Linked DNA regions of Homo sapiens: region 1 is linked to region 2. The links are contacts of gene promoters, found by promoter capture Hi-C in human tissues and cell types (Jung and others, 2019). All regions are on one chromosome and are shown on one strand. Each heading gives the region's core, a stretch centred on a gene start or on the middle of the fragment in contact. The rest is flanking DNA. Distances are from core to core; before and after follow the strand shown. Region 1 overlaps CLTA (clathrin light chain A). Region 2 holds the start of MELK (maternal embryonic leucine zipper kinase).

Region 1 (5,113 bases), core at 52-2,551, 380 kb after region 2:
TTTAAACAGTTCTCTTTTTATCAATGCTACCTCTCTTTAAATCTTTCCACTTTGGTAGATAACACACCAGCCAGTAATACATTCAGGAAAGTCAAAGGACTGGGGTTTCTTTCTAGGTCAGTCAATTAAAATCACAGGAAAGGAAGATTCTCAATCACTATCAATGAACAGAATCAGAGTACTCTGTACCTGGTAGTATTCACCATTCATTACTCCATCAACAGCATCTGCAAGACATAAGATTTTGGTCTATCAATAAGGACTGGTCAAACACTGGGCCAAAGGGTTGTACAGTAGAATACAGCATCATATGCTGTATGAACCTTGAGCTACTAAATGCTATCCCTGTGGTAGGTGCTATATACAACAAATAAAACCAAGATGTGCTTATATACAAATTTCACCAAAATGTGTACACATCTGTCCTTAAGCTCCCAAGTCCAAAAGCTTTTGATTTTATTTTCTGTTTTCTATTTTACAGTGGTAACAAATGGAAGACTAGCAGAAAGAGAACAGTGTTTCTCTATGAAAATTCTGCATGAGGGAAAAAAAAAAGTGTGGCCTGGAATCACCCATAGTGAGCAGAGACCTGCAGCTTCATCTTTGAGACAGTCTTGCTCTGTCGCCCAGGCTGGAGCAAAGTGGCCCAATCATGGCTTACTGTAGCCTCGACCTTTTGGGCTCAAGCGAACCTCCCACCTCAGTCCCCACAGGAGCTGGGATTGCAGGCATGCGCCACCACGCCTGGATAATTTTTCTATTTTTTTGTAGGAAGGGGGTTTCGCCATGCTGCCCAGGCTGCTATCGATTTCCTGGACTCAAGCGATCCACCCGCCTCGGTCTCCCAAAGTATTGGATTACAGGCATGAGCCACCATGCCTGGCCTCTCATATTTTTCTTAATTTTCCTAGTTGACTTTTACTCCTATATGTCAGTACAAAAATGAGTTTCTTATAGTTTGTCAGTGGCCTTTTACCACTTTAAGGCATGTGCCACCTACCTATGTAGTTTTTTAAGCACTCTATAAAGTTTTGGAAATATGAAGTTTATCAAACTAGTGAAAGCATGGGGGAAGCATATTCAATTTCGCCTCTGTAATAAATTTCTTGGTGTAGAATTGCTGGGTTACAGCTGGGCGCGGTGGCTCACACCTATAATCCCAGCACTTTGAGAGGCCAAGGTGGGAGGATCACTCGAGGTCAGGAGTTCAAGACCTGCCTGGCCAACATGGTGAAACCCACCTCCATATACTAAAAATACAAAAATTAGCCAGGGTGGTGGCATGAGCCTGTAATCCCAGCTACTCAGGAGGCTGAAAGAGGAGAATTGCTTGAACTCGGGAGGCAGAGGTTGCAGTGAGCCAAGATCGCGCCACTGCACTCCAGCCTGGGTGACGGAGCGAGACTCCATCTCAAAAAATAAAAAAAAAAAAAAAGAAAAAAGAAAGAAAAAAAAGGAATTGCTGGATCACAGGATATGTATTTTATTTTTTTTTGAGAGAGAGTCTTGCTCTGTTGCCCAGGCTAGAGTACAGTGGTGCAATCTTGGCTCACTGCAACCTCCACCTCCTGGGTTGTTCAAGTGATTCTCTTGCCTCAGCCTCCTGAGTAGCTGGGACTACAGGCGTGAGCTATCATGCCCACCTAATTTTTTTTGTAGTTTTAGTAGAGACGGGGGTTTCACCACGTTGGCCAGGATGGTCTCGAACTCCTGACCTCAGACGATCCACCCACCTCAGCCTCCCAAAGTGCTGGGATTACAGGCATGAGCCACTGCGCCCAGCCAGGATATGTATTTTTTTATTTTTTTTGAGACGGAGTCTCACGCTGTTGGCCAGGCTAGAGTACACTGGCGCGATCTCGGCTTGCTGCAACCTCCGCCTCCCAGGTTCAAGTGATTCTCCTGCCTCAGCCTCCCGAATAGCTGGGATTACAGGCACGTGCCACCATGCCCGGCTAATTTTTGTATTTTTTAGTAGAGACGAGGTTTCACTATGTTGGTCAGGCTGGTCTCAAACTCCTGACCTCAGGTGATCCGCCCACTTCAGCCTCCGAAAGTGCTGGGATTTCAGGCGTGAGCCACCGCACCTGGCCCAGGATATGTATTTCAAAGACTTCTAAAATTCTACCCACTTGTTCCTATTAGTCTACCAGTTTATATTACTACTAGCAGCACAAGTGCCCCATTTCTTAGACCTTCCCTGATACTAGGGACTGTGCTTGATCATGTTTTAAAATTTTTGCTAATTTGATAATGGAAAAAAAAAACAAACTCATGGTGGCTTTGTTGTGCCAATCTTATTTCCAGTGAGGTAATCACATACCCGACACCTGATTTTCTTCTTTACTGAATTTTCTGAGTTTGCCTATTTTCCTGCTATTTTTTGATCTCTAAGTATTTGCTCTCTAATAGTCAAATATTTTCCCTAGTTTCTCTTTTGATTTGGTTTATGGTATTTAACACTTGGAACAACTTAATTTGTGTATGTAGACATGATCGACTTTTTCTTCATGATTTCTGTATCTGCTTTTATGCTGAAGGCCTTTCCTATTATGAGATAGACAAATACTCACTTTTCTTCTTTTACTTTTTAAATGTCTCTCTTTAATCCACCTGGAATTTATTTTTGTGTAAGACAGAAGAGTGAGATAGTTTTAAATCCTAGATCCTACAGTGGCTAGTCTGGCCAGGCCTACATTATGGTTAATATAGTACAATTGACATACCAACTATCCACTAATATAGTCCAGCCCTGGGCTGGAATATGAGAGACTTTGATCACTACTCCATATACAAAACAAGAAGCAATCCTCATCCCACATCTCCTTAAAAATCACATGCTGTCTGAAGGCTCCTCCAGACCCACTGGCATCTGCTTTCCTCTTTATTAGTTACTGTATTACTGCACTAACATTCTTACAAGAATCAACTGGCTCAAGCCAAGGGATCGTCTGTTGCTGTGGAAACATGCAGAAAGGACATGTAGGGCCTTGACTTACTACAACAACTAAACTAAGCAACACGATGCTTCAGAAGGAAACTTTCTAGGGCCTTTCAGGAACTCCAGACAGAAAAAGGGCCAGTTTTCAAAAGTGAAAGACTGTCCCAAACCCACTTTCAACTTTCCACATTCCAGAAACATTTGAAGTCAAGCAGACCTACGTTTGAAGCTGCACTTGAGCCATTTATTACCTTGCTACCTTAGTGACACTGCTCAACTTCCACACCGATCCATTCTCATCTGAAATATGACACTACCACTTAACCTGTGGAGCTACTGCTGGGATCTGAAAGTGTACCTGGTATACAGCAAATGTGCAGTACAATTAACTATCATGCATGAGATTTCCCTAAACTTCCCTCCACCACTGCTACCAATAAAATTACTTCTCCAGAAAGCTTCCCTTTAATTCACCCATGTCTCTTTCTTCTCCTACAAGAAATAACTTGTCACCGGGTGCGGTGGTTCACACCTGTAATTCCAGCACTTTGGGAGGCCAAGGCGGGTGGCTCACCTGAGGTCAGGAGTTTCAGACCAGTCTGGCCAACATGGTGAAACCCCGTCTCTACTAAAAATACAAAAAGTTAGCTGGGCACGGTGGTGGGCGCCTGTAATCCCAGCTACTCGGGAGGCTGAGGCAGGATAACTGCTTGAACCCAGGAGGCGGAGGTTGCAGTGAACCGAGATCGCACCACTGCACTCCAGCCTGGGTGACAGAGCGACTGTCTCAAAAACAACAAAACACCATAATAGTGCCTTACTGCTGTACTCTCTCTGTGGCTTGTCTCTCCTGTTCTCTTCCCCGACTCAGCCCTCATGATTGAGAGCTTTTCAACAGCTCCACTTGTGCTGCCTCCTTCATGACCACCTGTTCTTCCTCAATATCCCCCACAGCTGGTTACCTCAATATCACTTCACCCAGCTGGTTTCTTCCTGCCTCTAAACCTACGTCTCTTTTCTGGATCTCTTAACAACCAAAGGAGTCATCCAAGGCTTAGCCCTAACCCCTCTGGTTTTTGCCTGTGCCCATCCTCCATAGACGCTTTCCGCAAGGCTGGGGCCAGTTTATTTTCCTCTCATCAATCTGTCATAGCTGACTGCCTATATATCTCTGTATAATACATCAGAAAGAGAGCTCCCGCCTAAAACCTCAATTTACTCAGTACACTTCAAAGCCTAAAGGCCTTGTAACTCCTTTCTCCCACTAATAGTAGCTGGAATTCACTAGATACTTAATATAACTGTAAGCACTTTATAGACACTCTTTAATGTAATCCTAAAGATGCCACATAGCATTATAAATTATATTATGCAACTTTTACAAAGGAGAAAACTGAGGCCGGGCAGTGGTGGTAGTTATATACATTGTCTGAGATCACAAAGCTAAACTCACACTCAAGCAGTTTAGGATAGCATAGAATCTTAACCACTAGAGCATATCTTTAAAAAAAAAAAAAAAGAAGGAAAAAGAAAACTAAGAGAGAAAAAGTGTCCAATCAGTTCTCTAAACTCCAAAGGAAATGCTGACCACTGCATATTACCAACTTCAATTACACTGTCAGGAATCTGGCTTTAAGTCACCAAATGCTTAGTTCACTAAGAAAGTCCCTCCTAGGAACTAAGTCAGCAACCATTTCTTTCCTTCCCTTTGCCGAAGGCTTGATGCACAAAGGACCGAGCATCCAACTCTATTCTCTCCCTTTTACCTTCCCTAACTGCCCGTCACCAAGATCTGTCAGTTCTACATAGGACCCTTGGATCTGACATTTTTGCCCATTTCTTTGTCAAACGTGAGCATCTACTACATGTCAGACACACTGCTAGGCAGTGGAGATAAAACAGTAAGGGTAACACTGTCCTTGAATCAGGACAATCTTCCAACTACAGATCTTGGGTTCTGCTTCTCCCAAATCTGTTCCACCTGGGACAGCCACAGCTGCCTGTCTGTTATCGCACTACACCCCTGCTAAAACAACTAAACACTGCAACAGAATGTGGTATATTCTAAGAGTGGGTAGACTTGGGGCTCAGCTATTAACTCGTGCTTTTTTAAGCAAGTCGTTTCTCTCTAGGATTGCTTCTCTTCTATTAAATGAGGAAGGTTAAACTAAG
Region 2 (5,912 bases), core at 1,737-4,236:
GGAACACTGGACTATAAATCTGAATGCACATGTTTACATTCCATGCAAAGGACTGGGCTATTTCAAATTGTCACTCAGAAAGAGAAAGCAATTTGTAAGATGCTGGAATTCACTTCCCAGATTAGGGATTTAAGAGTGTCATAATTAACTTAATAGACTTCTCCCAAAAGAGTTATAAACATCCCAGTCATGGCCTCTGGAAAACTAGCAGAGATGGGCAAGTTGTTTATTTAACAACTAAGGTAAGACTGAAGCCATGCACTTTTTTTTTTCTTTCTTTCTTCCATTTTCTCTATCTACCCGCTTCTCTCAAATTACATCATGTCTTTGGATGAGTAATACCAATGTGGGCCTAGATTATAGCTACTGAATCAAGGGAATATCGTTGTTGCTGCAATGTGAGAAAACTGGTGCTTACATTACAAACTCCTACACTAATAGCAGATTATACTTGATTTGTAAATCTTTGTGAATGTGGAGCTGGTTCTAAATATTCTCATGTGCCCTGTTTATCCTCTAGAGTTTGTTAATATAGAATACAGAAAAGCCTTGAGAACAGAGTAACCCAACTTTGTAGCTGCTGAAGGAGGTATATTATCAGTCAACGCGGAAGACAGCCTCTCAACTGTGAATAATGAAGAAGGAAATTAGACCCCAATCAGACACCTGAGTGCCCTTCTGGGCTTGACTAAATAAATAGAAGAATTGGGGGTATATATAATTGGGTTTTGTTTTTGTTTTTGTTTTTGAGACGGAGTCTTGCTCTCTTGCCCAGGCTGGAGTGCAGTGGCGTAATCTCGGCTCACTGCAACCTCCGCCCTCTGAGTTCAAGCAATTCTGCCTCAGCCTCCCAAGTAGCTGGGATTACAGGTGTGCGCCACCACGCCCGGCTAATTTTTTGTATTTTTAGTAAAGATGGGGTTTCACCATCTTGGCCAGGCTGGTCTTGAACTCCTGACCTCACAATCCATCTGCCTCGGCCTCCCAAAGTGCTGGGATTACAGGCGTGAGCCACCGCGCCCGGCCTATAATTGGGGTCTTTAACTTCTCAGAAGAGCAAGGAATTGGGATAATGAGAAGACGTTTATGGTTAAATTTTAAAGGATAGCAACAAATTGGGGGCATTTTTTAACAATATTATTTGGGCTATTCTATTACTTGCCGCATAAATACATTTACCTTATCTACAGAGCTTGGAAAGACACTGATGCTGAGGATAATTTCAAACAGGAAGTAGAATACAGAATGGTTTTTTGGGTTTTGTCTGTTTATTTGCTTGAGACAGGGTCTCGTTCTGTCACCTAGGCTGGAGTGCAGTAGCTAGATCTCGGCTCACCGCAACCTCCGCCTCCTGGGTTCCAGAGATGCTCGTGCCTCAGCCTCCCCAGTTGCTGGGATTACAGGCATGCGCCACCATGCCCGGTTAATTTTTTTTTTTTTTTTTTTTTTTGTATTTTTAGTAGAGACGGGGTTTCGCCATGTTGGCCAGGCTGGTCTAGAACTCCTGGCCTCAAGTGATCCGCCCACCTCGGCCTCCCCAAGTGCTGGGATTACAAGCGTGAGCCACCACGCCGGGCTCAGAATGGTTTATAATGTGGCCTGTAACACATTTAATTAGCATCCTGCCCTGCTCCCTTGCAAAGGCTTCTGGGAGCACCAACAATGAGGCACTCATTGGGATTGATCTGCCCATCTAGTTGGTCCACAGTAGTTACACAGAAAGGACAGACCCTTGGGAGAAACAAGCCCACGAAGGCCCAGTAAGGGCTTTTCTGATTTTTCTGATTTTCTAGCCAGACTCCATGGGAAACAGAAACCAAAATTTAAACCAAAGTTAGGAACACTGGCCTCTAAACAACAATCCAGGCTCCTGATACTCACCTCATTCCACTAACAAAGGAGAAATACCAAAGGTAATTACCCGTCCTAAGTGCTAGGGACCTGATTCCTCTCTTGGGCAGCCTTCCCTGAGTCTACCCTTTCCAGCTCCCACAACCCTACACCAGGTTTCTTGGTGGGAGCAATCCTGCTGCTCCTATTACTGATACAGCATTCGGTGAAAATTCCCCTTTTAGGCCGGGCGTGGTGGCTCACGCCTGTAATCCCAGCACTCTGGGAGGCCAAGGCGGGCGGATCACCTGAGGACACGAGCTGGAGACCAGCCTGGCCAACGTGGTGAAACCCCGTCTCTACTAAAAATACAAAAAATGAGCCGGGCGTGGTGGCGGATGTCTGTAAGCTCAGCTACTCGGGAGGCTGAGGCAGAAGAATCGCTTGAACTTGGGAGGCGGAGGTTGCGGTGAGCCGAGATCGCGCCATTGCACTCCAGCCTGGGCAACAAGAGCGAAACTCCGTCTTGAAGAAAAAGAAAAAAAATTCCCCTTTTAGTGTGAGCCTCTGAAGCCACTACTCTGGGGAGATGATAGGAGAGGATGGATTTGGACTCTGAAAAGGTAGTGATAACACATCTCCTTTTTTATTGCACTGCCCCAGTAAACTGAGTTGTACAAACAGAAAAAACTCGAAACCCTTCTGTCAACTTTTTTCGCGGGGAAGAGTCACGGAAACTGGAAACGGGAAATGGGAATTCACGTCTATCGCAGCCTCCTAGGTGGCAAACGCTTAGCCTGAACACCTCTTCAATAACCCTGTTAAGTAGACACGGTCATTATCCCCACTTACGGAGAAGAAAACCGCGGGTCGGAAAGGTCAAATATCTTATCCAGGGAACAGGGCTGGTAAAGCGCGGGGCTCCGATGAAATCCTCCAGTCTCCCGAGAGCCAGGAGCAAACTGGGTTTGGGCCGCTGCGCCCCGCACAGCCCAGACCCCAGCCATCAACTGCGACTGCGGCGGGCAGGCGGGAGAACTGACCTGAGGGGCGGAGGGCACGGCTGAGCGGCGCCCGACAGAAGGACAGGGGCCTGCTGTCCTGAGAGACGCGGCTGGTACGGCGTTCCTAAGAATCTTTTCGATCGCCGGGTTGTGGCCGCTTCCGCCCGCCAAGGGAATCAAATCTCCCGGGCCGGAAGGGGCGGGGACGCGGCGGGGGCGCGCGCGGCGCCGGATCCCAGGGAAGCGGACGCGCACGGCAGGCGGGGGCGCGCACAGTGCCGGGGGGTTCTCACCGGGGCAACGGCTCGCGGTCGCTGTGGAGCCGTGAAAGGGATGGCCGGGAGGTCCACTGGGCTGCGAGGGGTGACTTGAGGCCTTGGTCTTGCCCCGGAGGGCACGTGATGATTTTCCAGGTGGCGTGGATATGCCAAGTCTCCACAGAACCCAACTTTCTTACGTTCTCTTCCTAAAATTGACGTGCCCTCTGGCAGTCACAGTTCTCATTTTCGTCCTCCCTTGCCCACTGGCCGTTCTCCCACCCAGCAAAGACAGGAATACCTCCCCCTCTCCAAAATGTGTTGCCACGAGGAATAAGAACCCCAGTAGCTGAGACTACAGGCACGCGCCACCACGCCTGGCTAAATTATTTGTGGGTAGAGACGGGATCTCGCTATGTTGGCCAGGCTGGTCTCGAACTCCTGGGCTCAAGCGATCCTCCCGCCTCAGCCTCCCAAAGTGCTGGGATTACAGGCGTGAGCCACTGTATCCGGCCCAGAAAATCTTTAGACAAATTAAACTTTACAGAGTTGAATTGACCAAAGAATGAGTCCAAAATCCAGTAATCCCTGGAACCAAAATAGGTTCAGAGTGATTCGGGCTGCCATATGTTCAAATAACATTTATGGACAGAAAAAGGAAAATGACTTACAGAAATTGCAGTCAAGTATGGAAACAGCTGGATTGGTTGCAACTCAACCTCTGACTATTTTGAGCACTGTTTAAACAGTTGGCCACCTGTGATTGGCCAAAACTCCGCTGCTGTGATTGACTGAGACTCGCTACTTGTTACAAGGTTACAGTCTCTTTACACATTTACAATTGTAGTTGTCTACAATTCACTATGTATGGAGAAACTGTTAGGCCAGGTGCAAAGGCTCACATCTATAATCCCAGCACTTTGGTGGGGGGGCGGGGGCAGATCATTTGGGGTCAGGAGTTCGAGACCAGCCTGACCAACATGATGAAACCCTGTCTCTACTAAAAATACAAAAAATTAGCCGGGCTTGGTGGCGCGAGCCTATAATCCCAGCTACTCAGGAGGTAGAGGCAGGAGAATCTCTTGATTCTCTCTGCTGGGAGGCAGAGGTTGCAGTGAGTAGAGATCGTGCCACTGCACTCCAGGCTGGGCAACAGAGCAAGACTCCGTCTCAAAAAAAGAGAAAGAGAGAAAGAGAGAGAGAAAAGAAAGAAAGGAAGAGAAGGGGAAGGGAAGGGGAAGGGAGGGGAAGGGAGGGGAAGGGAAGGGAAGGGAAAGGAAAGGAAGGGAGAGAAAGGGAGAGAGAGAAAGAAATAAATTGTTAGTCTGAACTTAAAATGCATAAGGAGGCAGCTTTATGCTAAACTTAATTTAACATGGTCATCTGAATCTTCAGCAAATCATAATCTTTTTGCTGGTGGAGGGTCTTGCCTCCATGCTGCTGATTGATCAGGGTGGTGGTTGCTAAACGTTGGGATGGCTGTGGCAATTTCCTAAAATAAAACAACAATGCTGCATCGATGGACACTTCCTTTCATGAAAGATTTCTCTGTAGCATGTGATGCTGTGTGATACCATTTCATCCACAGCAGGACTTCCTTCAAAGTTAGTTCTCTGAAATCTTGCCACTGCCTTATCAACAAAGTTTATGGAATATTCTAAATCTTTTGTTGTTATTTCAGCAATGATCACAGCATCTTCACCAAGAGGAGCTTCCATCTCAAGAAAGCACTCTCTCTTTGCTCATCCGTAAGAAGAAACTCCCCATCTATTCAAGTTGGATCATGAGATTGCAGCAGTTCAGTCACATATTCAGGCTTCACTTCCAATTCTAGTTCTCTTGCTGTTTCCACCAAATCTGCAGTTACTTCCACGAGTGAAGTCTTGAACCCCTCAAAGTCATCCATGAGGGTTGGAATTAATTTCTTCCCAACTCCTGTTAATGTTGATATGGTGACCTCTTCCCATTAATCATAAATGTTCTTTTTTTTTTTTTTGGAGATGGAGTCTCACTCTGTCACCCAGGCTGGAGTGCAGTGGCGTGGTCTCGGCTCACTGCAAGCTCCGCCTCCTGGGTTCACGCCATTCTCCTGCCTCAGCCTCCTGAGTAGCTGGGACTACAGGCGCCCACCACCATGCCCGGCTAATTTTTTTGTATTTTTAGTAGAGATGGGGTTTCACCATGTTAGCCAGGATGGTCTTGATCTCCTGACCTCATGATCCGCCTGCCTTGGCCTCCCAAAGTGCTGGGATTACAGGCGTGAGCCACCGTGCCCGGCCATAAATGTTCTTAATGACATCTAGAAGAGTTAATTCTTTCCAGAAGGCTTCCATTTTACTTTGCCCAGATCCAGCATAAAATCACTATCTATGGCATCTGTAACCTCACAAAATGTATTTTGTAAATAAAATGACTTGACAGTCAAAATCATTCCTTGATCTATGGCCTACAGAATGGATGTTATGTTAGCAGACATCCAAACAACATTCATTTCCTTGTACATCTCCATCAGAGCTCGTGGGTGACTAGGGGCATTATCAATGAGCATTAATATTTTGAAAGGAATCTTTTTTTCTTAGAAGTAGGTCTCAAAAGTGGGCTTAAGGTATGCAGTAAACCTTAGCCAGCTGTGGCGGCATATGCTGGTAATACCAGCTCTTCAGGAGACTGAGGCAGGAGGATCACTGGAGCCCAAGAGTTCGAGGTTACTGTAAGCTATAATTACGTCACCGCATTCCAGCATGGGTGGCAGAGTGAGACCCTGCCTCAAAAAAACAAACAAACAAACAAAAAAGATATTCAGTAAACCCTAGTATAAACA

Evidence for each region. Contacts are between HindIII fragments. The study calls those that stand out against the background at their distance.
Region 1: a contact is called between a fragment that was not itself captured here and the fragment with the promoter of MELK in region 2, in 1 of the 25 tissues and cell types used here (H1 embryonic stem cells).

What each region holds. Positions count from the first base shown.
Region 1 is chr9:36,192,665-36,197,777 of GRCh38, reverse strand. It overlaps CLTA (clathrin light chain A), which reads right to left. Exons shown (of 5, transcript NM_001833.4): 2 at 190-227. Among named protein-coding and RNA genes, the nearest start is that of CLTA, 4.3 kb to the right of the region's middle. The HindIII fragment of the contact is 6,945 bases long and covers 1-4,773 here.
Region 2 is chr9:36,569,969-36,575,880 of GRCh38, reverse strand. MELK (maternal embryonic leucine zipper kinase) reads right to left here and starts at 2,986. Exons shown (of 18, transcript NM_014791.4): 1 at 2,874-2,986. RefSeq lists a silencer at 2,905-3,184 and an enhancer at 3,768-4,267. The HindIII fragment of the contact is 26,418 bases long and covers 1-5,912 here.